3 separate regions of the Homo sapiens genome follow, and all the other regions are linked to region 2. The links are contacts of gene promoters, found by promoter capture Hi-C in blood cells and fetal thymus (Javierre and others, 2016). All regions are on one chromosome and are shown on one strand. The core of a region is centred on a gene start or on the middle of the fragment in contact, and the rest is flanking DNA. Distances in the headings are between cores, read along the strand shown.

The links. The method cuts DNA at HindIII sites, captures the fragments that hold promoters and counts their contacts. A CHiCAGO score of 5 or more calls a contact.
Region 1: a fragment that was not itself captured here is called in contact with the fragment with the promoter of CAPN9 in region 2 in 1 of 17 cell types (endothelial precursors); the score reaches 5.0 in endothelial precursors.
Region 3: a fragment that was not itself captured here is called in contact with the fragment with the promoter of CAPN9 in region 2 in 1 of 17 cell types (naive B cells); the score reaches 5.2 in naive B cells.

Annotation. Positions count from the first base shown.
Region 1 is chr1:231,183,989-231,187,117 of GRCh38, reverse strand. The region is part of intron 1 of TRIM67 (tripartite motif containing 67); the gene reads right to left. TRIM67-AS1 (TRIM67 antisense RNA 1) reads left to right here. Exons shown (of 3, transcript NR_166514.1): 2 at 945-1,042; 3 at 1,882-3,020. Among named protein-coding and RNA genes, the nearest start is that of TRIM67-AS1, 2.1 kb to the left of the region's middle. RefSeq lists an enhancer at 2,775-3,129. The HindIII fragment of the contact is 2,612 bases long and covers 240-2,851 here.
Region 2 is chr1:230,745,867-230,748,747 of GRCh38, reverse strand. CAPN9 (calpain 9) reads right to left here and starts at 1,360. Exons shown (of 20, transcript NM_006615.3): 1 at 1,039-1,360. The coding sequence starts at 1,251. The HindIII fragment of the contact is 4,090 bases long and covers 900-2,881 here.
Region 3 is chr1:231,206,890-231,209,669 of GRCh38, reverse strand. TRIM67 (tripartite motif containing 67) reads right to left here. Exons shown (of 10, transcript NM_001004342.5): 8 at 420-723. Among named protein-coding and RNA genes, the nearest start is that of TRIM67-AS1, 21 kb to the right of the region's middle. The HindIII fragment of the contact is 2,858 bases long and covers 84-2,780 here.

The DNA.
Region 1 (3,129 bases), core at 296-2,795, 440 kb before region 2:
ACACAGCTACGACTTCCTGGTCACACCATTGCCTGGGAAGCTTTCAGCTTTCTGTTTTTAGACTTAGATTGATCTCCTGGTCGAGATCCATATGCTTGTGAGATGGGCATCCTCATTAGCCTTGCTGATGAGGCAGCCGTGGATGTCGTGGGATGTGCGGGTAAAGCAGTCCCCTTCCTCTAGCAGGAAGATGAAAGCTGCCCAGACAGCCTGAGAAGCACCTTCCCATCATCCAAGCTTTCATTTTAGGCCTCTGGGGTGCTGGGCTGGGGAAGGCTGCCTGGCATTTTCAAATGGTTGGAGATACTGCTCAATGCAAGCCTGTATCCTGGACCAGCCTCAGGGGAAGGGCGACGGACTGAATTGTGTCCCCCAAAATTTAGACATTGAAGTCCTAACCCCCAGCACCTCAGAATGTGACTGTACTTGAAGAGATGATTCAGTTAGAATGAGGTCATTAGGGTGGGCCCTAATCCAGCAGGACTGGTGTCCTTATGAAGAGGGGAGATTTGGACATAGAGACAGACAGGTGCTAGGGAAAGCACCACGTGAAGATTGGAGTTATGCTGCCAAGGATCTACAAGGAGCTGGGAGAGAGGCCGGAGCAGGTCCTTCCCAGAGCCCTCAGGGGCAGCATAGCCCTGCCGACACCCTGATTTCAGTCTTCTGGCTTCCAGAACAGTGAGACGATATATTTCTGTGGTTCTAAGCCACCCAGTTTGTGGTACTTTGCTCTGGCAACCCTAGCAAAGAATACAGAGGGACTAAAAGGAGGTCCACGGATGCGCTGCTGAAACCAGGAATCCAGGTCAGGCCCGATTTGTCCTGTTCCAACTAGAGATGTGCTCCTCCTTCAGGAAGAAATCCTGCTTTTGCCAGAATGTACTCTTGTCTCTCCTTCTGGCCCTTTGGGCTCAAGAGTTCCACTGCTGTGATTCATGCAGAACAAAGAGGGAGCGCCTCAGCCTGGCTGTCAAGCCCTTCATCCATTCACCGATGTATTCATTCAGCAAGCGACTGCCAGCCGCCTATCAGGAGAGAGGTGAGTTCTGCTCACGGGGAACATCCCCTTCTTTTTCCCTGGGAAAATCTGCAACCCAAGCACCTATCTTCCAGAAGACCCACCTCCTTCTCGTCTCCTCTAGTTATGAGCCCTTGTCCCGGCTGTCACGGCCGTTTATCACACTCATCTCCAGTCCTAGCTCAGCTTGCCCACGTCCAACTCAAATCCTCCTTTTCCACGAAGTCTTCCCCCCAGACTCCATGAACTTTGTGGTTCATCTCTGTTCTGCCATCACCTCTCGCTTACCTCCGACTGTGGCCCTCGCCATCATCTGTCTGAGGTCTTAGTTACTTATCTACTTGACCGTGTCCCTCACTAGATCAGGACTTCCAGAGTGAGCCGTTCAATCATCTTTGTGTCCCTAGTACAGAGCCTGTGCAGAACGGGCACTCAACAGTGTCTTCTGAATTCACTGATTTCGTGCTGTGTGCTCTGGGGAGCTGCAAAAGGGCAGGACGCGTCTGGGCTCCCCTAGGCAAAGGTCCCAGTGCTGCAGCCCAAGGCATCCTCTGTGTCTCCTACTAGGGATCCCACTTCTCACTCTCGATGTGGCCTCCCCTCGCTGCCTGTTCATCCCGGCTCACTCCCTGGTCCTGCACTGGGGGCTGGAACACAGACTTCCTGGGGGTCCCGCCGTGGTGGGAGCTCCTGGGTTCCACTTGTTTGGGTTGTTTTAGATTCTTCCCCACTTCAGATGAGGAAAACAAGAGCCATTCTCCCTTCTGACTTTCCTTCCTTTTCTTTTCTCAGATCCCTCCAGTGTAGGAGGGTGGGAGGGAGAGCTGGTCCAGGGGTGAGGGGAGACTCCTTTCTCACAGGGAGTTTTCAGATAAAGGCTCTGGGAATCCTGAGAAGGGTGGAAGGTGCAGGAATGGACGCCGTGGAGTACAGGCTGGCTGGCTGGACAACACACACTTCCCATTGAGCCAGCAACTCGGATTTAGGAGCCAGCAGATGGTGACCGAAGTGCCCTGCTCTCTGGAAGTCCAGGCACCAGCTCAGCTCCACACTAGCCTAGGCCCTGCAAGCAGAATAAGCTGACCCTCCCCAACCTGCCGGCCACCCATTCAGGAGCACTGCTGGGTGTTTATCCAGCAACCCTTAGAGCTGGGCTTCAGGGTTGGGCCCTGAATTCAAACCCTAATTTTACGTGACCTAGTTTCTTGCCCTCTGTGAGACTTCGTGTCCTCACGTGTGAATTGGGGTGATGATACCCACCCCAAAGGCCTGCCTCAAGGTTTAATGATGGTGTGCATGGAAGGCCCTGGGTTCAGGGACTGGCACTCTACTCATGGTGGTTCTCGGTAGAATGAGAACCCCAGAGAGAGCTTCCCCGACAGCTGCAGGGACCATTGTTTTTCTGCTGTTGACCTTCCATTATCCTCTATAACAGTATCCCAATTTTGCTTTGAGAAGTTGCCTTTTCTCCACTGAGCACAGCCTGGTAGGGCTGGAATTAGGACTCCAGTACCACTGCCTTCACCCTGACAAGGGGTAGGCACATGCCTGTGTGAACCCTGAGAGAGCCAGCCCTTCGAGATGGATCCTGAGGGGCTATCCGGGTCTGAATTCTGAGTGGCGCTGAAAGCCATTTGCCTACTGCAGGTTCCCTACATGCCCTGTGCAAGCCGAACAGTAGCTCAATGTTGGGGCCTTCTTAGCTGTCTGTTCCTGCTCACACTGCCAGAATCAACTGCTGCCGACGTCCTCATTCTACCACCTGAACCTGACCAATGAAATGTGACCCGTGGTCAACTTTAACATCAGCAAATCAGAACTGAACAAGCTTGCATCCCTCAGATGCAATGGGAACTGGGATTAGAATCTAAGCAGAAACTTTTTCTATGCAGGATAGCCCTTCTCTTTGTTCTGGCAGACGTGCCTTTGTTTTATACTGAAGGCTGAGTCTCCCCAGTTGGCAAACTGCTGGTTGGAATAAAGACTCTTTTTAAAAACATTCCTTTTCAGTGGATTCGTTAACACCCTATTCGAGGCCAGCAGGATGATAACTCCTTGGAATTCAAAACTGAACAAAGAGACAAAGAGACCTGGAGAGATGGGTGTTT
Region 2 (2,881 bases), core at 111-2,610:
ACTCATATGTAAGATGAGACTCAGAGCTAATAATCATTGTAATGATGATAATAATAGTATCAGTAATAGTAATAATGTGACAATAGCTGTAATGTACTGGAAACCTTCTGTGTGCTAGACATTGGCCTGCATTAGCCATTATTGTTCCCATTTTACAGGTGAGGAGACTGAGGCTCAGGGAAATGAAGTGATATGACTATATGCATGAGACAAATTGTCAGGATAAGACAGGCACTCAGGATCTCACTTGTAGGACCAGCATCCCTTGTACTGCCCCTCCTTGCCCAAAAGCAACCGGACCCCACAGGAGCCACTCCCAGGCCCGTACCCACCTGGAGGGAATGGAAGCCAGCCCAGCTGGCGCCGGGTCAGAGGTAGAGCCCTGACTAATCCAGCACCGCAAATATTGACATGGCGTCCCAGGCACAAGCTAGCACCTCTTGGGACCCAGTGACCAGCTGGTGCCTCTTGGGACGACACCTCCAGACTGTCAGAGGTGGGGCACTGTTCACCCTGATCTCTGGGAATGGGGGGTGCATGGTTCTCGGGAGAAGATTCCTGCTTCCCTTGTATTCCATCTGTCACCCGGTTGCTGAGACCTTGCTGAGCCAAACATCCATCCACACTGAGCACCCTCAGCTCTGGGCCAGAAGCCACAGAACACTGTGCATAACGTGATCTCAGTGTTACCACACACAGGGTGGGGGCCTGTCCTTGTGGATAAGGTTTTGATTCGTGCCTATCACCTGCTGACAAGACCCACTCTGACTCCAGGTCCTCAGCCTCGGTGGGAGTCAGACAGCTTGGAGCCGGGGAGCGGGTACAACCAGATGCCCCGGGTCCCCACCGCAGAGCATCCCAGGCCTGTACATTATTTTCTGCCTCCAAACTGCAAAGCTTTCCACGGTAGACTGGGATGATGCACCTCAGTTGCACTGAGCGTAGCCGGCCCCTCCCCAGCACCCCTGTTTCCACTTCCTGCGGGGGCTGCTGAACCTCGGCCTCATCTATGCTCCTTCCCCTGCTCGCCCCACTCACCCCTGGTCGTTTCCACACAAAGGGGATCTGCGGCCTCTCACTGTAGAACAGGGAGGAATTGCTGGCTGGGAAGTCTGCATCCTCAAACAGGGTGCCTCTCTGCAGGCACTCCTGCCTCATTTGCTCAAAGCTCTGGCCTGAGGAGTGGGTGATCCGGGCGTCCTTGGGAACCGGGTGTGCCTGAGGCCCTGGGGCCCGGTAGAGGTAAGGCATGGCTGCTCCCTGGAAGGCTGGCTTGGGTCCGGCAGTGGATGGAAAAGAAAGTGAAGAAGCGAGCTGTGTGTGCCGGTCAAGAAGGAACAGCTCAGAGGGCCACTGGGCTGAGTGGCCCTCACCTCCACCTATTTTCTGGGCACCTCCCTGTTAGACTGAGATGGGACACGCCCTGATGGAAAACAGCAGAGAGAGCCCTCTGCCCACTCTGCACTCCTGCAGACTCAGAGGCAGCTCTGGGGCCTGGCACATTCCACTCAGAGGCGGCACCTCTGCTTAGTGCGCTCAGGGGGCCTCATGGGAGAGAGAGGATTGCTTCAGAAGGAAAAGGAGCAAGAAACCCAACTGGTCCAGGAGGTGGCTTTACGGAGAAGTGCACGGTGTGGTCTTGAGTCCCATCTCCTGCATCAGAGAATGGCAGAGTTTTGTAGTCGGAAGGGAGGTTGGTGAATGAAAGCAGGATGCATTATGTGAACACAGCTGGCACAGCTCCTGCACAGGCAATCCCATAGTGATTCAGCACTGGGGTCAGCAAACCTTTTCTGTAAAGGCCCAGACCATGAATATTTTCAGCTTTGTGGGCCACGCAAAGTCTGTGCTGCAACTACTCAACTTTGCTGTTGTAGTGACAAAGCAGCCGTAGATGTGACACAGATGAATGGGTGTGGCTGTGTTCCAATAAAACTTTATTTACAAAGGCAGGTGGGGGTTAGATTTCATCCAACCTGACCCCTGATAGAGGAGAACTCACAGAGGACATCGGCTCTTCCTCTAGGGCACATGTGCCTCTTTCATTCTCTAGACATCATATTAATAAAGTTCCTTGTTGTTATAGTCCTACAAATAGGATCTCACGTCTGAGAAAAAACAAATGTTAGAGGATGGAGGTGGTTTGATAAATGTGTTTGCCCATAGAAATGATTATACAGGCTGGGTGTGGTGGCTCACACCTGTAATCCCAGCACTTTGGGAGGCCGAGGAGGGTTGATCACCCGAGGTCAGGAGATCAAGACCAGTCTGGCCAACATCATGAAACCCTGTCTCTACTAAAAATACAAAAAATTAGCCCGGTGTGGTGGCGGATGCTTGTAATCCCAGCTACTTGGGAGGCTGAGGCAGGAGAATCCCTTGAACCTGGGAGGTGGAGGTTGCAGTGAACTGAGGTCGTGCCACTGCCCTCTAGCCTGGGTGACAGAGAGAGACTCTGTCAAAAAAAAAAAAAAAAAAAAAAGAAAAAAGAGAGAGAGAGAGAAAGAAAAGAGAGAGAGAGAAGGAAAGAAGAAAAGAAATGATAAATACTGGAGGGGATAGATAGCCTAAATACCCCAACTCGATATCACACATTCTGCACATGTAACAAAATAGCACATGTACCCCATCAATACGTACAAATATTATGTATCAATAAAAATAAGTCAATAAAAGTATTAGTCACCACGTGAAAACTCTGATGTTCTAAGCACTTTATAATGATTTCTGTGTGATTCTCTAACTAGTCAAAGTTGAGGTTTGGAGACAAGGGGTCTTGAGTTAATGGGTACAGTTAAAAGGCCATGATGTGAATTTTTATATAAGCTCACAGTTCCCAGGAGTGTGCACTCAGTCTGACACACGTTCTGTCTAGTAGATC
Region 3 (2,780 bases), core at 263-2,762, 460 kb before region 2:
CAAGTTAGTGGCAATGACCTGGTCACAGCTGTGAGGACACCAGCCCCAGTGGTGCCCATTAACACCCTGCAGCAACCCAAGCTTGGGTTGACAGTTGAAAAGGAAAGTGAAGCCGTACCAGAAAGAAAACTACGAGCTCCATATCCCAGCAGAGGACCACCGTGTGGCCCGCTGGGTAACTTGGGAGACCCATCTGTGCGGGTGCTGTGAGAGTCACCATAACATACCCTCATCTGGGCTGCAGGCCAGTTCTATATGGGCAGAGTGAAGGCCTCCTAGAAAATGGAGACCAAAGTGGCTGAAAATACCTCCTCTCAATTCCTCCTGGCTTTGGGGACAGCAGAAGGGACACTGGTCTTCAGGACCCTCATTCCCAAACAACCTGTGTCCACGGGAGGCAGGATGGGGCCCAATCGCACCTGTTGGTGTGGGAGTTGCAGTGCATGAACCAGCTGCGGTTGTTGTCCACATACATGGCCCAGGCCTTGTCATCCTTGCCCAGCATCATGTCCTTGACCACGCTGGCCCTGGCCACCCCGAAGGCGGGGTCTGGGTGGTTGTCGTACCGGTCCACGTGCAGCTCCCAGTAGTGCACGCCCTTGGAGAACGCAGCTGTGCCCAGCACCACCCGGTCGTCATAGCTGCTGCAGGTGGCTGTCTGGTTGTCATTGGATAAAATGATGTCCCGATGCCCAGAGTTGGGGTCAAATGTGAACCAGGCCACTAAAAAGGGAGGAGGTGAGAGGAGCAGGGTCAGGGGATGGAATTTGCTAGTAGTTTCTAACCGGCTCAGAGACACAAACACATTCGCTTCTGTTAGAAAGTCGGCACCCAGAAGTGAAGGGTCTTTCCTGTATGATTACCACACACGTGCACACACACACAAACGTACACACATGCACACACTCCCTGCTCTGTGTTCATCCAAGTTGCCAGCCCTACGAGCCTGGCCTTGCCAAGGATTTTCAGGCCTCAAAACCTCAAATCTAGATGCATTTTCTGGTCTTGGTTTCTAAAACCCTTCCAAATGCTCACAGTTAGAAATACAGGAGGAAATAGCCTGGGAGCAGTGGTCCACGCCTGTAATCCCAGCACTTTGGGAAGCCGAGGTGGGTGGATCACCTCAGGTCAGCGGTTTGAGACCAGCCTGGCCAGCATGGTTAAACTCCGTCTCTACTAAAAATACAAAAATTCGTGGCCGGGCATGGTGGTTCACACCTGTAATCCCAGCACTTTGGGAGGCCGAGGCGGGAGGATCACGAGGTCAGGAGATCAAGACCATCCTGGCTAACACAGTGAAACCCTGTCTCTACTAAAAATACAAAAAAATTAGCCGGGCGTGGTGGCAGGTGCCTGTAGTCCCAGCCACTCGGGAGGCTGAGGCAGGAGAAAGGTGTGAACCTGGGAGACAGAGCTTGCAGTGAGCCATGATCACGCCACTACACTCCAGCTTGGGCGACAGATCAAGACTCTGTCTCAAAAAAAAAAAAAAAATTCGCTGGACATGGTGGTGGGCGCCTATAGTCCCAGCTGCTTGGGAGGCTGAGGCAGGACAATCACTTGAACAGGTTGGCAGAGGTTGCAGTGAGCCAAGATTGTGCCATTGCACTCCAGCCTGGGCAACAGAGTGGGACTTCATCTCAAAAAAAAAAAAAAAAAAGTACAGGAGGAAATCGATATTGATGAGCCACCTCATGGGTGGGAGATTTGAGACACAGAGAGGTGAAGTGATGTGGCCAAAATCACAAAGCTCAATTCTCCATTTTGCAGCCCATCAGGTGGTGCCCCCTTTTGCTCCCCAACCCCCCAGGTTGATAGAAGTGAGTCCCTTACTCTAAAGTCATGACCACAATGCACAGGGCAAGGACCGCTCATCTCTGGGCAGGCAGGAGAGTCTAGAGGCAGAAGCTAGCGAGCTCTCCTCTAGGGGTGTACAAAGTGACTCTGCAGGTGGCATCATTTTCAGAAAAGTGTCCCTGGCTGGGCCTTTTGACACCAGCATCTGCTCATGCTCCTACTCCTCCCTGCCTCTAGGAGACCATCCAGCTGTGGCAGTCAGAGGATGTGTGGACTAAATGATAACAATGAATGCACGATTTGCCCTCTTCTTGGAGGCAGTGGGGAGCTGGAAACTGCCTCTGCAGCCTGGGCTGGGCCACACCTGGGGGAGCAGAACTCTCTTTGGAATGTGATTCCTATTTCTCTCATTGCTCTCTGCTAAGAACTCAGATGATCAAAATTCCACTGAATTAATATCAACATGCTGTTGTTGCCCAAGACCTAAAAGGCTGCAGGTAGGTGTATAAATCACTGGATGTGAGCTCTGATGCTGGGGATTAAAGGGCACTTTTCCGCTGTGAGAAAGGCTCAAATGTAGGGACTGGTGTGGGCCCACTGCATCTATCGTGGAGTTTTCTTGTCTGGGACTGTCCTACTCACTCCTCAGCCCTTGAGAAGTGGGAGAAGTTTAGCCTCCCTTAGCTACTTCACATTTAGTCCAGCACAATGGGGTAAATGAATGTTTCTTTCGTGGCTTGTAGGCCATGTGGGTGCAGCAAAGAGCTGTGTGTGCAGAGCAGGGTGAGGCGTATGCACCTCAACCGGCCCCTCCGGCCCTGCACTTCCTCCCTCCCCCATCTTCAGCAGCTCATCCTTTCCCCTGGTCCACGGGATGAAATGTGGGTTGGCCCTAGGAGTCAATCTTTGTCCTTTGGGAGCCCGCCTGTGGTCCCAGAAGGGCACGCCCTTGGAGAACCCAGCCGTGCCCAGCACCACCCCCC